Regions from separate parts of the Homo sapiens genome. Here region 2 is linked to region 1. The links are contacts of gene promoters, found by promoter capture Hi-C in blood cells and fetal thymus (Javierre and others, 2016). All regions are on one chromosome and are shown on one strand. Each heading gives the region's core, a stretch centred on a gene start or on the middle of the fragment in contact. The rest is flanking DNA. Distances are from core to core; before and after follow the strand shown.

Region 1 (3,155 bases), core at 486-2,985:
CTTACTAGATACAACCAAGTATCTTTACAGTCTAGCAATAAAAAAGAGTTGTTTATACTACCTCACAGCTAGTTAACCAAAACAAATCTTGAATGAATAGACTCATTTTTCTTTACTGTTCTTATCTATAAACTAGTTTCTTTAAATTGAAAGAAACTACTTTCATCTAACTCAGTCTACCATCTAACTCAGTCCTCACTCTGCAAGGAAATTAGGCATATTCTGTGTATCTTTCCAAAAATTATGTATGTATATCCAGACATATTCTGTGTACATAACCGTGCACCTTGAATTTCTCTTAATAAATGAAACATCTTGGATAGCTTTCTAAAGTACACATAAAAAGCTAGGCCAGGCACGATGGCTCATGCTTGTAATCCCAGCACTTTGGGAGGCCAAGGCAAGGAGGATTGCTTGAGCCTAGGAGTTCAAGACCTGCCTAGGCAACACTGTGAGACCCCACTCCCTACCCTAATCCCCCCACCACCCCGTCTCTACAAAAAAATTTAAAAATTATCTGGGCTTGTGATGTGCCTGTAATCCAAGCTACTCAGGAGGTTAAGGTGGGAACCCCACTTGGGCTGAGGCCAGGAGTTGAGCCTGCAGTGAGCTGTGTTCAGCCTACTGCACTCTAGCCTAGGTGACAAAGCAAGAACTCATGTTTATTTAAAAAAAAAAAAAAAAAAAAAAGAGAGAGAGAGAAGAAAGGGAAAATAAGCATTATTTTTGGGAAAAAATCACTGTATTTAGAATAGCTTTCCCTCTTAGTTAATAAAAGTAACAAACCAGGCCAGGAGCGGTGGCTCACGCCTTTAATCCCAGCACTTTTGGAGACCGAGGCAAGTGGATCACCTGAGGTCAGGACTTTGAGACCAGCCTTGCCAACATGGCGAAGCCCCGTCTCTACTAAAAATACAAAAATTACCTGGGCGTGGTGGCGGGCACCTTGTAATCCCAGCTACTGGGGAGGCTGAGGCAGGAGAATCACTTGAATGCAGGAGGTGGAGGCTGCAATGAGCAGAGATAAGCACCACTGCACTCCAGCCTGGGGTGACAGAGCGAGACTCCGTTTCCAAAAAAAAGAAGAAAAAAAAAGTATCAACCCATTACTCAATGAGTTTTTCAGTCCTCGGTATTTATTTTCCCTAATTCAACCTCTGAGGAAGCCACAGCTAATGGAAACGAGTTACAGAGAGAGAGAAACAGGAGAAAAGCCTAAACTCAGATTTTCTAAGGCGCACAACAGGCTTGTCACGTTTCTGGACTGGACAGCGAATTTCAACTCTTGCTGTTGAAAGTTTATTTTAAACTGTTGGTGCAGTTTCTTTAAAAGACGGCAATTCTGTTTGGGTAGTGAAAAATACATGTATCTCTACCTAGTTTCGTCTACAGGTTCCAAACTTTTTAAGGATGGGGTGGAGGATGACGTTCGCTAGCTTTTGGCAGATAATAGTATTCTGGTATTCCAGGACCACCACTCTCTGCCCACTCCTGGGAGCCCCTCCCTTCGGCCCTCTCCTCCGACTCTCTGCTGGGCCCTTTAAATCCCCTCTCCTGTTTAGCAGTGGTCACGCCGCCCGCCTTGCGTCCCCCGCGCTGCTCCGCACGTGGAATGGCCCATGACGTCACGAGGCCACGGCTCAATCAGATGCGGCGTTTGGGAAATTTTAAATTTAAAGGCGGGGCGGCCTGTGAGCCCTGAAGTGCCGGCCGCGGAGGGTCCTGGCCATTTTCCTGGGACCAGTTCAGCCTGATAGGATGGCGGAGGAAGGAGCCGTGGCCGTCTGCGTGCGAGTGCGGCCGCTGAACAGCAGGTAGGGGGGCCACACCACGGCCCGGTGCCCGCTGGGCCTGCGGCGCCGCCCTGAGCCGGAGGGGCGAGGCCTACGATGTTTCCAGGAGCCGCTGCTTCCCGGCTCTGCTGTCTAGTGACTCGGCTGCTGGCCATCGTTTCAGGGTCTGTAAAGTGACAGGGGAGGATCGGAGATCTAGAAGATACTTTCCAGCTGCGAGATTCACTTAAATTTAACTCAGTCTCGCTGACATACAGACCTTCCCTTCTGTGCTGCTCTGCCTTGCGGCATCTGCTCCTCCCTGCCCCATTCCCCGCCTAGAGAAGTCGTATGGGACCGTGCCTTCCTGGCCCTCATCACAGTTAGTCATTTTACACCTAACTGCTGTCTCCAGACCCTCTGAAGACAAGGGCTAGTCTGTCTTGTCACATTACATTCAATCGTCACTCAAGATCATTCTACAAATATTTATCAATTTTTTTTTAGTGACTTTGTACAACACAGACACTCCCGTCATTGCCCAGTGGCTCTTCCATTCTAATGGGACGAGACAGAAAGTAAAGTTGAAAATGTAGGATGTTAAGTGGTGATATGTAGGTAATAAGTGCTAGGGAGAAAAAGCAGGAAGAGGAATAAATGAAATCGGTTTGCTTCACTAGCTTCTGGCCCTCGACCCGAAATGCTAACACTTTGTGTGTGTGAGAAATTTTTATTGAACACGGGGTTTAATAAATGCAAATACCAAGATCAGGAATTTCCTATTTTTGAGGAGCTCATTATCTAATGCCTTAAACGGCTACATAAAGAAACCATTAGGATACCTTTTGACAAGTGTTATGATGGGCAGGTAGAGAATGTTTGCTAGAGGAGTTATTAGCCCATCAGAGACGAAAGCTTCCCGTGGGGTGAACTGGTGTCAGAAAAGTCTTGACGCTTTTCATGAGTGAAATAATCCCTATGTTACTTAATGGAAAGGGAAGTCAGAGTATTCCAGGCACAGAGAGGTTACATCTGTCATTTGGGGAAGACCTTCAGGTAGAGCTTAGGATGTATCTAGGAATTCAGAGGAAAATGGAAGAGAGAAATGACATGATCTAGGACTCGTGCCCTGCTGAGGATTTCATAAGTTTCCAAAAGGTTTTAAGAATTTTAAGCAAGACAGACATAATCAGAGTTGCATTTTGAATCCATCCCTTTGTTTACCAGTACTGGGGGAGAGGGTGAGAATGAAAGCCTTCACAAGAAAACACTTTTGAGGCGGCAGAAGGTCACTGAAGCTCCATTTAAGAGTTGAATCCTCAAAGATGGACTTTCTGTCATTCTCTTATGTTACTATCTTTCAAAATATTCTTTAGCAGGTGA
Region 2 (3,155 bases), core at 454-2,953, 3.4 Mb after region 1:
TCTCTCAGTTCATATTAAGAACTATGAACATGTACTAGTATAGTAAGATGAGAGAAATTTGATGAAAACCAGGAGGTTACATCAGCAGTCAAGCATGAAGGCTCTGGAGCAAAACTCTTGGATTTGAAGGTATGTTAGAATGGAAACTTAAGCATGTGATTAAAACTCTGTTCTTTACTTTTCTCATCTATAAATGGGGACAACATTAGTAATAATACCCACCTCACAGCAATGTGTAAATTAAACAAGTTCACATGGGCAAAGGGCTTAAACTAGTGCTTAGCACATGATAAGCATCCAATAATTACTAATTGCCATTACTAGAATACATACCTTTGACCAGTGGGCTCTACAAAGCAGCACCATGCAGTGGAAAGCTCTGGGGTAAGTTCCTAGGTGTGTCTCTCAGCTCCACTACTTACAAAGTCTGTGACCTGGATCGTATACTTAGCTTATTGAAGTCACCTTTTGCGTCTATGAAATGAGTATGGTGATATCGTATTGAAAGTGTTATTGTGAAGCCTAAATGGCATTATGCGTGTGAATGGTATGGTGCTGATGCATAGTAGGTGGTCAGTAAATTAGGACTATCACAGCAGGGAAACAACCTGGTTTGTGAAGTCAGCATGGGTTTTGAACACAGACACTCAGAGACTGTAGGCAACCTGATTTTTCTGCTCTTGAGTCTCTTCCTGTGTAAAGCTGGAATACCAGTGCCTTTCAAAGACCAGAGCTGGTGTCTACAAAATGCCTGCCTTATAATACGGACTCATTTTGTTTATTATCATTTATTCCGTGGGTCAGCAAACCACCAGCTGAGGGTTAATTCCTGTCAGACACCTGTTTTAGTATGGACTGGGAGCCAAGAATGGCTGTACATTTTGAAATGCTTGAGGGAAATAGAAAAATATTCATAAAAATTATATGAAATTCACATTTCAGTGTATAAATAACGTTTTGTTTGAACACCATCACGGTCATTTGTTTCTGTGTTCTCTGGTAGTTTTTGCACAACAGCAGATGTGAGTAGTTGAGGTAGAGACTGTAAGGCCTGCAAAGCCTAAAACATTCGTTACCCGGCCCTTTATAAAAAAAAGGTTTGCTGCTCCATGGTCTACTCTAAACTTCTCTTATATGTGACTAATTAGTTATCAATTTATTTAAATATTCAGAGCTTGGAATCTAGTTCTTTGGCACTGGCCAATCCAGCCAAACACTGGCACTTTCTTATACAACTTTCGATTTGAGAAAGTATTTAAAAAAGAGAACGTTTATTATGTTTCTCACTTGGAGTTACAACTGACTAGATCATTTGAATATTTAATTTTAAAGTATGCTAAAACACTTTCATTTTGTTATTTCTTTTGTGTTTATACATATATATAGCTATATGTAGAAATAGTATAGTAACCTTTGTTAAAGCCAAAGAATTGCTGGAATTTTCAGTAATTTAACTAGCTATTCTTTACCAGTTTGTTACTTAGGTGATATCTCCAGTATTTGTTACTTGTTTTATTTTGCCATATTTTCATTTTGCAAGCAGCAAACAGCCTGACCCATCTCCTCGTTCATGGTCCACCTCCTTCCTCTCCCCTGATTCTCCACACCCTCACTTCTTGCCCTCCCCACACCTCTCTTCCCCCTAAGCCCATACCCTCCCCTGAGAAGTGTAAGCGAAGCTGAGCAACAATTTAAGATGGTTTTATTTCTCCTTTGCTTCTGGACACATTAATGTATTTTAGATGAAAGAAAATTAATGATTTTAGGCTGACACTCTATAAATGAGACATGGAAAAGCACTGTGTTGCTTGATTTAGGTATTTTAGAAAATAATAAACCTGTACTCTGAGCAAGTTGTATATGTCCTGGAAAGGCAAGTGATGGATTTGCTGCAGTTCAGGGCTCAATTTACAGGATTTACATATTCCAGAGCCTGAAAAAAACAGAGGCCCAAGAACAAAGACTTCTGCTATTTCTGTAATTTAACCACTAACTTATCTGTTTATGTCTATCAAAAACATAAACGTAAGGATTTATCTAACTACTCAAATAACCTCTTAAAAATAATTGAAAAATTAAGTCATTAAAACCAGCTACCTTTTATCTATCCATTACATTAAATCATTTTGTTTTTAAGGAGGTCTTTGGAAACTAAATTAATCAGAAGGTTTGGTAGAGATTCTATCTCGCCAGTGGTTAAAGGTTCAAAGAAAAAGTCATTATAATGTTCGAGTTATGTTCAGTATTCTGGCAGAGGCAACAAGTCATTGTCAAGAGTTCTCAAATTGTTATCTATAAAAAATGTATCAGTGAGGTGCTGCAGGAGCAAGTACTGGCACAAGTTGATTATTAAATATTCAATTCGATGATGTTAAATTGTTGGCAGCTTGAAATTGTCTATAGTGGGAGTATTTATACCAGGGAATTAGGCAAATTCTTGAAATCAGGGCTTTCTCCACACCCCAACTCTTCCCAGCTGTTTTTCCAGCACACTGTTGAGTATGCTTAAATAAGCCATACATCTGAGGGTTCTTTTTGGGAGAACAGAAATGTCCTAAAACTGATTTATGGTGATGGTTGTATCACTCTGTAAAGTTAGTCAAAAGTATTGAATTGTACACTTGAAACGGGTATATTTTATGATATGTAAAATAACCTCAATAAAGTTGCTAATCGAAATGCCCCTAAACCAACAAACAAAATATCAACATTTATTAGTAATTTTAAGATTCAAGTACACACCCAACAGACTTAAAATGAAAAACAAGACCACATTTACCTAATGCATTTGGTAGATACATATTCTATGCAGTGATCATCAACCTAGGGTCTCACTTTGGAATTACTTGGAGAGTTTGACAAGAAAACACCCATCCCCAGAGATACTGAAATCATTTGTCAAGTCTGTGGTTTGGGTGTCAAGATGTTCCAGAGCACAGCCAAGGTCAAGAACCAGGACTGTAGAGCAGTTTTCCCAGATAACTGCAGGTTGCCCATTGCTATAGAAATCATCCTCATGTTTATTAATTGTTCACGCCTTCTGAAATAGGGAAATCTGGCCATGAATGTACCCTTTTTTTTTTGCAGGGAAGTGGTGTGACTCAGTTTTGTATTCAATGTCTATTCTTTGCACATGGAGGAAAGACACAGTCCTA

Evidence for each region. Contacts are between HindIII fragments. The CHiCAGO score rates a contact against its expected background, and 5 or more counts as called.
Region 2: a contact is called between a fragment that was not itself captured here and the fragment with the promoter of CENPE in region 1, in 1 of 17 cell types (naive B cells). The highest score is 6.3, in naive B cells.

Annotation. Positions count from the first base shown.
Region 1 is chr4:103,196,923-103,200,077 of GRCh38, reverse strand. CENPE (centromere protein E) reads left to right here and starts at 1,735. Exons shown (of 49, transcript NM_001813.3): 1 at 1,735-1,814. The coding sequence starts at 1,759. RefSeq lists an enhancer at 1,319-1,873. The HindIII fragment of the contact is 3,749 bases long and covers 1-2,689 here.
Region 2 is chr4:99,818,617-99,821,771 of GRCh38, reverse strand. The region is part of intron 1 of DAPP1 (dual adaptor of phosphotyrosine and 3-phosphoinositides 1); the gene reads right to left. Among named protein-coding and RNA genes, the nearest start is that of DAPP1, 3.4 kb to the right of the region's middle. The HindIII fragment of the contact is 5,274 bases long and covers 1-3,155 here.